3 separate regions of the Homo sapiens genome follow, and all the other regions are linked to region 1. The links are contacts of gene promoters, found by promoter capture Hi-C in blood cells and fetal thymus (Javierre and others, 2016). All regions are on one chromosome and are shown on one strand. The core of a region is centred on a gene start or on the middle of the fragment in contact, and the rest is flanking DNA. Distances in the headings are between cores, read along the strand shown.

Region 1 (4,498 bases), core at 874-3,373:
GATTTTGAAGAGAGTTAATAAATTAGCATTCTAGTGAAAGACTGCAAATCATAATTTTCAAATAAAAAGTTTCCTTTGTCAAAAATCATTTTAGACAATTTATTTTTTACTCTATTAAGAAAATAAGACTGTAATTCTATTTGCAATGCAATGTCTTTGTTCTATTTTTGTATTTTAAGTATGTGAGACTTCAAATGAAAAAAATATCTTCTTATCGCAGCAGTTTTTCAAGCAAGTAAAACTGCTTCAAGCAAATTTTCTAGGCCTGAAAGCTCTGTGGCAGAAGACCATACCTCAGGAGTCTATTCCTGGACATTAGATTGGGCCTTTCCATGAAGCTGAGTGTTAGCTCCTGTCTTTTGGTCATGGCTGGACTCCATATAAGGTATTCATTCACTATCATCTAGAGTGCACATGAACTGGAACAAGAAGCAGAAATGTGACCCTTGATTAAGATCTGTGCTTTCTCTCATTACTCGTGTTAAGTAGGGCTCTTCTATTCCAAGTATTATTTATGTCCTGCAATTGTTGTAGAAAAATGGCCCTTTCACTCTTAGCAACAACATGGAACTTAACAAGTGGTAATTTAATAGATTGGAGAGTAAAAATATAATTTGAATGGGTGCAGAGTCAGGTCTTTTCAAGTTGAAAAAGCATCCTTTTTCAGGATCAGAAGAAAAAATTGAATAATGAAGTGAATTCAAGTAAATTGATACATGAGTTGAACACACTTCTAACAGAAGACTTTTGTGGGCAAAGGTAGGAAATAGGAAGTTGTGACAAGGAAACTTAACAGAATGGATCCAAAGTTCATTTGGAAAAATAACTTTGAGAGAATAGTGATGAAACCTTTGAAAGGGGGAGAAAATAATAAAGGAGAATTTGCCCCAGTAGATATTTTAAACAATGATAGTTTGAGATAATTAATAATGTTCTATTGCAGAAATACACTGACTATTAAATGGGAAAGGACTACCGCTAGCCCACATGATGCCCAATTCTTTCCAAGGAAGCTCTGCAGGTGCTTGGCTAGGAGCCGAAGATGCCTTTGTAGTTAGAAAAGATATCCCTTTCTTCTTGCTCGCAAGCTCCATTGGCTTGGCTGGCAAAAGAGCTTGGCTGGATTTTATTCTGCACTGGACCTTTTTTAGGTGTCTTACTGCATTTTGCATGCTGTTTGACCACACCTGGAAGTTCTGATTGAACAGACCCTGTTTTATATCTAAGTTAACATATGATAAAAATTACTGCTAAAATCACTGGACAAAGAATGGATCTATTCAATATGTGGTGTTGGACACCTAGGTCATTATTCTGGGGGAAACAAAAGCCCTATCTTTAGATTTCACATCAGAATAAATTGAAAAACGAAAACTACAAAATACTAGAAGAAAATATTGCTAATTAGTTTGGGTGAAATGTCATTATATTTTTTAAAAACTCAAGAAATCATAAACCGATTACATTTAAAGAAATTCTACATAGTTTTAAAATAGAACAAAATAATTTAATTATTTTAATTAAGTTAATAAGACAAATACCCGTTTTTTGGCTAGAGGTTAATATATTTACCTCATACAGAACCTTTAAAAATCAATAAGAAAAAGAAAAAATATATGAAACAATAGAGAAAAGAGAAAAATGTACAGAATATATAAATAGCCACCTCACAAAAGAAAATATAAACGGTTATTAACTTTATGAAAACTTATTCAGTTTTATTAACAGTGAAAGTAATAAAAATTAAAGCGATTGAGCTGCTAATTTTTCACTAAGATTATTTGAAAATTTAAGTGTTTGGAGAAAAAAAATTAAGGGCCAAGATGGAATAGTTTACATGATGTCATTTAGGTAAACGAAAAATGCATATGAAAATAAATATTTTGAAAGAATACTTACAAAAAAGTAGTAGTATGGGCCGGGCGCAGTGTCTCACGCCTGTAAGCCCAGCACTTTGGGAGGCCGAGGCGGGCGGATGACGAGGTCAGGAGATCAAGACCATTCTGGCTACGGTGAAACCCCGTCTCTACTAAAAATAAAAAATAAAATAAAATAAAAAAATTAGCCGGGAGTGGTGGCGCGGCGCCTGTAGTTCCAGCTACTCAGGAGGCTGAGGCAGGAAAATGGCGTGAACCCGGGAGGCGGAGCTTGCCGTGAGCCGAGATCGCGCCACTGCACTCCAGCCTGGGCGACAGAGGGAGACTCCGTCTCAAAAAAAAAAAAAAAAAAAAAAAAAAAAGGAGTAGTATGTACGTTATACTTCCACATGAAAAAAATGGAAAGAAAATTGTTAAGTGTCTGTGGGTGCTGGGTAATGCCTTTCCTCTACTCCTGGTTTCCATGCAAAAATATTTTACTGGGTCTTTACTTACTTGCCCTTGGAGAGATGTTATGACATTTGGTAGATAAACTTAGGAATAAACTTGGGAAGAATTGCTGGGCATGCCAGGCTCAACTACCTTTCTCTCTCTTTCATTCTTTGGAATAGAACTCAAAAAACAATTTAAATCCTTTTTCAAAGGCACTGTCTCCTTTCAGGTTAGAAGGAGGCCAGGAACTACGTTGACTGAGGCTGCTGTTTCAGTTCTTTGCTTTTGGATCTACCAATTCAAATCCGTTATCTGTCAATCATAGAGTAATATTTTGCTCTCATTTTTTTGGTCAATTTATTCCCCACCCAGGCATAAAGAAGGGATACTATTTATCCGGGTCTCTCAGAGGCCTCAACAAACCTTGGAGCATATAGAGAAAATGTGAGCAATAGGTACTTTTGGTGATGGGAATACAGGTGATATTTATTTCCCTTTTGCAGTTGCCCTCCTATTTTTTTTTCTTTTTTTGCAATGGTCATGTTTCATGTTCTTAATCAAGAAGATCAAAATAAAGCGATTCTTTCAGAATGACAGATAAAATGATAGAGGTTTGAAGGTAAATGTAACACAGTAACTTTGGAACCCAGAGCCCCTAGGAACTCATAGGATATTTGGCCACTGTTACACATGACAAACAGAAACATGACCCCCTTTCAAATCACATGACTGAAATTTGAATTTCAGTCTTGGTTTTCATTACAGTTTTTAAAAAGTTGTCAAATACTTTAAATGTTGGTTTTGCAGAAATATAGGGCTAAACAACCAGCATATTTTTTGTGTGCTTTTGCAATAATCAGAAATAAAATTGGTTTTCTTAAGGTAAGTAACAGGTCGTTTTTTTGTCTTAGCCAAAGTTCCCTTAGTTAGGGTAAGAGAAACTTAATTCTGGTTTGAGCAAGAAAATTAATTTAAAAATACTGGAGGCCAGGCGTGGTGGCTCACACCTGTAATCCCAGCACTTTGGCAGGCCGAGGCGGGTGGATCACGAGGTCAGGAGATTGAGACCATCCTGGCTAGCAGAGTGAAATCTTGTCTCTACTAAAAATACAAAAAAAAAAAAAAAAAAAAAAAAAAATAGCCGGGCATGGTGGCGGCCGCCTGTAGTCCCAGCTACTCGGGCGGCTGAGGAAGGAGAACGGTGTGAACACGGAGGCGGAGCTTGCAGTGAGCCAAGATCGCACCACTGCACTCCAGCCTGGGCGACAAAGCAAGACTCCGCCTCAAAAAAAAAAAATAAATAAATAAATAAAAATAAAAATTACTGGAAAGCTGCTGAGTTTCTATCAGGGTCTATATGAACCTATGATGAATGTGAAGAACTTTCAAATGGAAATCTGAGGTATTTGCAGTAGGTAAAATTAGGCGTATTTGTCATCGTAGTGCCCTGCTAGGCTTCTGCAACCCTTTTCTTTGGCATCTCCCTTCTTCACTTCCTGGGGCATGCTATAAATTTGTTTTAAAATCTTGTTCCATTTGGTTCTATTGTTTTTAAAAACTTGGTTCTGACACTCTTGAGATTTTTATACCTCTAAGCCATTTCACAAAGAAGATCATATCAAAAGTCAGGTTATAAAAATTACAAAGCAATAGCAAGTTTAAAGACTTTAAACAGTGGGAGAAAATATAAAAGTGAGTAATCTTTAGCACTGTATGTAACGATTGGAAAAAGACAGTTATGAGGACTCATCTATCTTCATTTATCCATTCATGATGGATGTGCTTTGTAGCCATATTTTTTTTTCCCTCTTTAGGATCTTCCAAGTCTTATGGATAGGAAAGACAGATCTCTAAAGAGGCTATGATATGCCTTTAGGAAACTGAGGATGAGGCCGGAGTAGTAAATAACTCTTACTTAGAAGGAGTATATAGGGTCTCATCCCTGAGAACATGGGAGTTAGTTATGTAAATGTTCAGATGATTTTCAACATTGTATATGGTAAGGAAGAATTTTTTAAAAAGACCTTCTTACAGGTACTAGAGGCAAATGAATGAGAAATAAGTACATGCTATGGGATTTTCCATTATTTCACAGGATGGAAAGTTTGATCTCTGTAGCCTGATTTTGTTCTTTGGCCTTGAACTTGTTCAAGTTGAATTGTGTGTCCTGAACACTGATCTAGTTGTTC
Region 2 (4,498 bases), core at 1,026-3,525, 600 kb before region 1:
AAAAGTTTCTTCGCTTGGCTTCTAGGAAACTCCACTTCATTGCTTTTCATTATACTACACTAGTTCACTGGGATTTTTTTTTCCCCTGATTCTTTCTCTTCTCTCAGCACACAACATTGGAGTGATCCAGGCCTGTCATTGGCCCTTTTCTGTTCTCTAACTACACTCTCTGTTTTGCTGGTCTTACTCAATCTTATAATATTGTATACTATCTCTAATAGCAATTATTCCCACATTTTCAGTCCAGACCATTTCCTGTAGCTCCAGTCTTATATATCCAATTGCATATTTGATAAAACTGATAGGCAAATGGAACATACTATATCTCAAACCAAATAAGCCTGATACCTCCCTACACTGAATCTGTTCCTACCCAGAGCCGGCCCCATCTCATTGATGGCAATCCATTCCACAGGTTACTCAGGACGAAAACCTCACCATCATTCTTTTGTCTTTTTTTTTTTTTTTTTTTTTCTTGACGCAGTCTGGCTACAGTTGCCCAGGCTGGAGTGCAGTGGCATGGTATCTCAGCTCACTGCAACTTCCACCTCCCGAGTTCAAACAATTCTCCTGCCTCAGCCTCCTGAATAGCTGGGATTACAGGAGTGTGCCTGGCTAAGTTTTGTAACTTTAGTAGAGATGGGGTTTCACCATGTTGGCCAGGCTGGTCTCGAACTCCTGATCTCAGGTGATCCGCCCGCATCGGCATCCCAAACTGTGGGGATTACAAGCGTCAGTCACCACACCCGGCCATCACCATCATCCTTGACTTCTTCCCTAATATTCCACATCCAATCTGTCATGACATTGCATTTTTCTCCCAATATACCTAAAATTGGTTCTGATATACCTAAAATTGGATTGGACCCCTCTTTTACGACTTCCGCTTTGTTTACGCCACTACCGTCCCTTACTTCACTTAGTTCACTATCTTCCTAACTGGTCCCCCTGCTTCCCAAGTTGCCTATCTACTTTGTATGATCAACACAACATTCATTGCTGAATCTGATAAAATGTATATTAGGCAATTTATCCCTCTGCTTTAAAATCTTCCAGGGACTTCCTGTTTGATTTACTACAAACGTTGAGGCCGTGTTAGGCTGTCATGAGTTGGTCTCTTGCTTCCTTTTCTGTCTCATCTTTTATTGCTCCTCTATTGCCCCGTCTTCTCTAGTCCTTTGCTTTTGCCTCCTTAAAATATACCAAAACACCAGGCACCACCATATGAACTCATTGTTCAAGATCACCTGCTCATTGAGCCTTACCCTTACCATACTATGCAAAATTGTTAATGAACACCCCTCCCTCCATCATATGTTTGTCACCTTTTATGGTCCCTGCTTTATTTACTGTATTTTTTCTAGTAACACTTATTAACACCCAACATACTTTTATCTATCATGCTTATAGTTTAAAGCCAGTCACTCCTAGCTAACATCCTAATTTCCTACAAGCTAGAATATGTGCCTGTTTTGTTAACTGATGAATTCTAAGTACTTAGAACAGTGTATGGCTCATATTGAACACTCAATAAATATTAGTTGATTGGATAAATATTATGTTAAATCACTTCAGTTTAGATTGTATAGAAATAAAATTTGTATTGCATTCAATGATTACTATCATTTGAATATTGTCAGTGGGGCATCATAATAAATGGACTTTCATTTTGTGTATGTTAGCTTGGCAACAACGTTGTTGAAAAGCTTGTACCTAAAATACTTGAAATTTCTATTTGATGCCACTTATAGAGAGATTATAGAAAATCTAACGAGACTATTATAAGCTTCTTTAGCACTGAAAGAAATATCTTACTTCCATCAGAGGGATTTAGGTGATCCAGATTCTAACCCTAGGTCATATACAGGATCATTGTATAACCTCAGGCAAAGTACTTGAGAGTGAACATCTTTTGCTTTCGAAATAGAGAAAATAATTGCCCTGAAATTTTTATGTATAGTTGAAAGTACCAAGAGAGATTATGTTAGGGAAAATGCATTATAAACATATATAAATGTTCTATGCATGTAATTACTCAAATTATATAAATTATACATAAATATGTATAATGTTTCAGATTTTGACTTTGGATTCTGATGTATCAAAAGACTTCTCTAAATTCAAATTTGTTCTGTAGCATGAAACAATAATAAACTATGAAGACTTTAATGATTTATAAAAGTTTAGAAACATTTTCAAATGCATTAATTTAATTTAAAAATTCCGTTCTCAAGAGAGATTTATTCTAGCTAAGAAACAAATGAAGCATATTTATCGTTAAAATCCTTCCAAATGTGTTTCTAATACAAAAGGAAATGAGTTTTTTTCACTGACATTATAGTACAGTAATGGAAAGAACAAACTTTAATGCAAATTGTGTTCAGCTCTGATTGCAACAATTATACATTATCTTAAGAATAGTTTGTAGTAGATGATCAATGTTCAGATTATCAAGGTAAAATGTAAAGGTTTGTAATAATTATTGTATAAATGATATCTATATAATAACAGTAATTTATTGTTTTATTTATAGCATATGTATTTCTATGTAAGAATAGTTATATTTATAATCATTATAGCATAATCCACACTATTCAAAACTCAAAATTTAATTTTAGAATAATTTTATGCTAACATTGAGATTTATACAAATTACAAAATGTTTTTGAATATGTGATACTCTTACATTTTCAAAACTATTGATTAAAAAAAGGTATATTAATCCTATTTCAAGGATGAAACTTTTAGCAACATCACACAACAGCCAAGCTTACTGACTTTATATTCCTATATTCTATATCATGGCTCATTATTATTTATGTCTTTTCTTATAAGATTTGTATATGGGTTTTATATGTGTGTATCTCCAACCTATATAATTTAGAAAATGTTTGTACATATAGCAAAAAGACCAAGACAGTTGTTAATTACCATAAGTTAATTTACTAACCTATCCAGATAAAATCACTAAATGTTTTATCTCTACTTTTATAGATTAGAATGAATATGCCGCTAGTATAATATATTAAGAAAATAGGAAACATAATTAACTGAAAATAAATTGTAAGCTTTAACATTTTAAAAAGTCAAAATAGCAGAATATGGTGGAAAAAATACATATTTGTCACCAGATCAATTTGAATTTTAATAATGGCTGTGACCATTAGCAAGTTTCAAACTTTTCTAAGCCTTGAATTCCTCATGTGCAAAATGGGAAAAACTACCTTATATACCCTTACATTCTTGGAAAGAACAAATGAAAATTCTGATAAATATGTGTAAATTAGATGTAACAGTGTGCTACCAAAAATATGATTGCAATAATATTTTGATAACTAGTAATCTATATATGTATATGAATATGTTATGTATGAAATGAAACTCATTCCATATGATATATGTTATGTATTAAATGTTATATATATGTAAACACATACATATGTAGGAGCAGATAGAAGAATATACACATACACAATTTTCCTACATCCATGCTGTCTGAATAATAGCTTTAAAATTTGAAATATATATAAATTGTCAAAAATAGCATTTAACACATTTTTATCCAAGAACACTTATTTCCTTGAAAATTTGAGTTTGGCATATATAACTTTCAACCAACTCATATTTACTAAACATTCAATTTCAAAAATGTTAATAGATATTATATCTTATACTTTATTTAACAAGCACTTTCATTTTACCCCCAGAAAAATCCTGTGTGCAACATGCTACAAGTGTCATAGTTATATGTCACCAAACAGGTTTATAATATAGGACAATTTGAAACAGATTATTCAAAAATTTTGTTTACTTTTAATTGACAAATGAAAATTGGGTACAATGTGATACTTTGATACCCATTGTATCTGTGATAATTTGATACTGTGATAATTAAATCAATCTAATATATCTAACATCTCACATACTTACCATTTTTTTTGTGATGAGAACATTTAAAATCTACTCTGTCAGCAATTTTCCAGTATACAGTACATTATTAACTATCATCACCATGCTGTACACTAGATCTCCAGAACGTATTTCTCCTATATAACTGAAACTGCTTACCCTTTGATGAACAACTCCACATTACCGCCCTCTTCCTACCCACGCCAGCCCTTGGTAACCAGCATTCTACTCTCTACTTCTGTGAGTTTGATTTTTTAGATTCCACGTGTAAATGACATCATTTGGTAAATACACAAAAATTTGTCAGTAATTTTTCTTTTCTGTGTCTGGCTAATTTCACTTAGCATATTTTTTCCAGTTTCATCCATGCAAATGATGATATTTTCTTCTTTTTTAAAGGCTGAATAAGTATTTCATTGTGTGTGTATACCACATTTTCTTTATCCATTCATCTATTGATGGACATTCAGCTTGATTCCATATCTTGATCATTGTTTATAATGGTGCAATGAACATGGAAGTGCAGGCATCTCTTTGACATGCTGATTTCATTTCCTTTGGCTATATACCCAGAAGTGGAATTGCTAGG
Region 3 (4,498 bases), core at 752-3,251, 570 kb before region 1:
TTAATGGGGAGTTATTTTAGGAGACACCAGATAATAAAGATAAAAAGAACACTTAGTACACTATCTCTTAGCTGAAGTTGTTTTTTCACCCACTAGCAGCCACTTTGTCATCTGCAGTGTCTTTTCAACATCCCTAAAGCCCTCTCAGCTCTGGCTGCCTTTCCACAAACAGTGGGGGAATTCCACTACTACCCTCTTTTCCTCCTTCACCAATGCCACTGCTTTTGACTAGTATCACAAAAAAAATATCAGTTGCACTAGTGATTAAACAAACCTGTTACTTCTCATAGCTTTGATTTCCCTAAAATAGCTATAATGCAAATCATGTCCAGTTTCTTAGGAGCAATGAATCCAGCCATGACTGGGATTTTTTTAATGAGTCATCAATCCTACTTTATTGGTTCAAAAACCTGAAACTTTGTACATAGTGAAGAGTCTCCTATTTGCTTTTAAAGCAAAATTTATCTGTAGAGCATGGATGCCAGGAAATGCTTCTCTTCTCTTTTCTATCCTCTTTGAGTATAAAGCATATCTTGGGATAATGGATGCTGAATTAGCTGTATACTGGTTAAAAATCTTTAAGGGCATAACAAAAGTTGTATATATAAATGAAATTCTCAGATGAGGAGCAGCTGTTATTTATGTTTAAGTTGCTTTGGCACTTCAACTGTATATTTTTATCTCATTTAATTATAGCTTTGAAAATAAAACCATCATCAAATAAAAAAAAATCAGTTGCCTCTCTCTTTGCCAAAGATACTATAGGTTTCAGATATTATGCAGATTATTATTTTTTAACCCAGAATACATTTCTAAGAAGATATTATAGTCCTTGCAGTTCAAGAAATCAGTAATTTATTACAACTGTTCACATGCTAGGACATTTTTTGAACATAACCTGAGTATCATACTATTTTGTACTAATGGTGAATTATTTATTCAACATTATAACATACCTTTGCAACTAATGTTTCATTGTGGCTGGGTAAGGTGGTTCATGCCTGTAATTCCAGCACTTCAGAAGGCCAAGGTGGCAATATTGCTTGAGGATCTTTGGAGACTAGCCTGGGCAATATATTGAGACCAATCTCTACAAAAAGGTTTTTGTTGTTGTTGTTGTTGTTGTTTTGTTTTTTTGTTTGTTTGTTTTTACTTAGCTGGGCATGGTGGTTTATGCCTATAGTCCTAACTACCGGGAGGCTGAGATGGGAGAATCACTTGAGCCCAGGAGATCAAGGCTGCAGTGAACTATGATCATGCCACTGCACTCCAGCCTGGGTGAGCAAGACTTTGTCTCTAAAAAAAGATAAAAGAAAACATGTTTTTTATTGCTACAAACTACATTATTTAGTTTTAAAAAATGAGAGCAGCTAATACTGAAACTATTATTTAATCAAATAACAGAGTATATTTTCAACAAATCGCCTTGAAAATTGAGAACATCAAGCTTCAAATTAGTCAGTTATCTTAGGTATACATTTTGCATTTGGATATGAGAAATACTTTTCAGTTAGATTTCATGATTGTGAATCAAAAGTTTTAATATAATAATGGTTTCTACAACATAAGACAAAGTGAAAGCATCATGGAACAAAAATTGCTTAATTTACAAAATTATATTTCATCTTTATGCTAAATCTTGTGTTTCCTTTAATATATGACTTATAATTATGGTCCCTTTAGTGCAGTTCAAGTAAGACATTGACAAATTGAAGATACATTAAAATTATTTTTCAGAAAGAAAAAATATCACCTCTTATCGTATAAAGTATATTGAAATTCCAGTTTTTACTTGAATTCTAAGCCAATACATAAAGGTGACTGGCTTTGCATTTTTAATTATACTTACCGCAGCAGACTTATTTGCCAAGCTTTCCAGTCACAACTTTTCACAACCATAGAATTCTAGACTTTCTTTTGAGAGAAGTCTTCTCATTCTGTATTTGGATAGAATGGAAAGAGTTGTCAATCAACTTGTTTTGACAAAATCACACTCAAAGTTTGTTTTCATAATACAACTTTTGAGTTTTCTCTTCCTTCCCATTTTCTCTGATTTCACCCTGCTTTTAATCCTAATCCCTTTTTTGTTGAAGTAGTATGTTTAGCACACGCACACATACACACAATCACACAAGCTTAACACTGCTATTTTAAACGATTATAAATGCATTGTTCACCCAGTACTTTTCAGAGTAATGGAGTGTGCTGATGGAGAAGTTGTCTTTAGAACCAAGGAAATGGCTTTGATTTTAATAACAAAGTAATACTATTTGTACTGGAACAGCAGACATCGCTGCAGCTTAAAGTACAGCCAGTACTAATTCACTGCTCATTATTTATTTTCTAGAAGAAAAACTGATTTCACAGGTCTGATCCATCCACTTTAAGGATGGATTACTTCCACTTTTTGACTTATATTTTATTTGCAGGGATCTTCAATAATGATCTAAGAAAAAAATAGCATCGTAGTTGTCAGAAAGTATAAATCTGTATGTCATTTAACAAAGAGCTTCTCAGTGCCTATTCTCAGCTTCAGTCTAGAGATCCTGTTCTGGGCCCTGAACAGTTAAACAAGAGTGACATGAAGACATATGGGAGGTGGTGCTTCCCGAGACTCCCAAACTTTGTTAGTCTCCAGTATGTTGATCTCCTCAAAAATAAATATATTTCTTTGGTAACAAATGCCCTTTTATTTGAAAAATAATTGATTTTGCTTTTTCTTAGTGGAAGAACTAAAATTACAGTGAATAAAATATCAGTCATCTATTTATTTTCTTTGCATAATCTCTTTATCATTATGAGCTATCTAACATGGTGAGATTAATTTTCTTACATTTTACATATGTCATGCTGTTATCTTCTTTGAGGACTTTTGATGACTTCCCTTTCATCACAAGATAATGTAAAAACCCTGGACACAGCATTTATGACTTTAAAATACAACTTCAACTCTAAAACCATAACTTCAGACATTTTCTCCTCAAACATCATTAAGACAAAACTGTTACTGCTTTCCTTCCTTCCCAAACCTTTTATAAAAATTCTAATTGGTTCCAATTTGATCAACTCTCTTCCTCTTTTTATATGTTTGCACTTTTTCCCTCTTCCCATTTTTTTAAGTCGTTTCTTTTTCCTGTAACGTATTCCATCTTCTTCTGAAGTCACCACAATTCCAACTAATCCTTCAGGGCACAACTTGTCTCATCTTCTTTATGAAACCCTCCTAGACTACAAAACAAAGCAAGTCTTCTTTCTTCTGTTTCCACCATAATCACACTTCCCAGTCATTTAAGAGCAATACGTGTGTCCAAAACCAACATTTGGGAAGGTGTAGCTTTACAGTATAAGAAGTCATAATGTTAATACAAAATATTGATATAACAATATTTATCCAGCAGCAATTTGTGGAGCAATATACTTTGTGTGGAGAACTTTTCTAAATGTTGGGTATAAAAGAATGATCAAAGAAGACCAAAAGCCCTGTTTTTGTGGAACTCATGTTCTGGTAAAGTGGATAATCCAAACATACATTATGTAAGTAAATTTCATAATATATTAGAACTTTTAGGGAAGAAATATATGATGCTTAATTTTATGTGTCAACTTGATTGGACCACGGGTGCCCAACTTTGGCCAAATATTATTCTAGATGTGTCTATATGGGGTGTTTCTAGCAGAAGTTTACATTTGAATCTGTAGACTGAGTAAAATAGATTGCCCTCTCCAATGTGGATGGATCACATCCAATAAATTAACGACTTTTATCAACCAAAATAACTAAGTAAGAGAGAACTCCTCCTACCTGACTGCCTTGAGATAGAACATTGGTCTTTTCCTCCCTTCAAATCTGAACTAAAAAAAAAAAAATCAGCTTTTCTTAGGTTTCAAGACTGCTGACCTCTGGACTGGAACAGACACCATCAGCTCTTTTTGTTCTCAGACCTTTGGACTCATGCTGGAACTACACCATTGGCTTTCCTTGGTCTCCAGCTTGCCTACTGCAGGTCTTAAAATTTCTCAGGCTCTATAATCATATGAGCCAATTCTTTATAATAAATATGTATTTATTACATCTATATATCTATACTTATATCTATATCTTGTTGATTCTGTTTCTCTGGAGAACCCTGACTTATATGGAGGTTAACCTAGGGCACTGGGAACCAGAAAGATAAAAGATAGATTGGGTCAGGTCATGGAAGGCCTTTAATTTACTTCTGTTAGGGGGTAGAAACATATCACAAGTTTCTAAGCAGCAGTTTTACAGGAAAAAAAATGTTTTAGGAAAATCCTGAGCAAGAGTGGACTAGCATAAGAAAAACTGAGGTAGGGTGGTGATGAAGATGTGACCAGAGCAAATTCAGTGAAAATGGAAATGAGGATAACAGGGCCTGACAAGGCATTGGCTATAGAAGATCAAAAAATAATTCCAGTTACTGGTTTTAATCCTAGGTGAGGGTAAAGATAGTATTGCTGAGATTCGGAGACTGAAAGGATT

Evidence for each region. The method cuts DNA at HindIII sites, captures the fragments that hold promoters and counts their contacts. A CHiCAGO score of 5 or more calls a contact.
Region 2: a fragment that was not itself captured here is called in contact with the fragment with the promoter of LINC01090 in region 1 in 1 of 17 cell types (M0 macrophages); the score reaches 5.6 in M0 macrophages.
Region 3: a contact is called between a fragment that was not itself captured here and the fragment with the promoter of LINC01090 in region 1, in 1 of 17 cell types (M1 macrophages). The highest score is 5.5, in M1 macrophages.

The regions. Positions count from the first base shown.
Region 1 is chr2:188,285,568-188,290,065 of GRCh38, forward strand. It overlaps LINC01090 (long intergenic non-protein coding RNA 1090), which reads right to left and starts at 2,124. Exons shown (of 3, transcript NR_126396.1): 1 at 1,900-2,124. The HindIII fragment of the contact is 11,348 bases long and covers 1-4,498 here.
Region 2 is chr2:187,690,157-187,694,654 of GRCh38, forward strand. No RefSeq gene overlaps it. Among named protein-coding and RNA genes, the nearest start is that of TFPI, 140 kb to the left of the region's middle. The HindIII fragment of the contact is 983 bases long and covers 1,785-2,767 here.
Region 3 is chr2:187,710,943-187,715,440 of GRCh38, forward strand. No RefSeq gene overlaps it. Among named protein-coding and RNA genes, the nearest start is that of TFPI, 160 kb to the left of the region's middle. The HindIII fragment of the contact is 264 bases long and covers 1,870-2,133 here.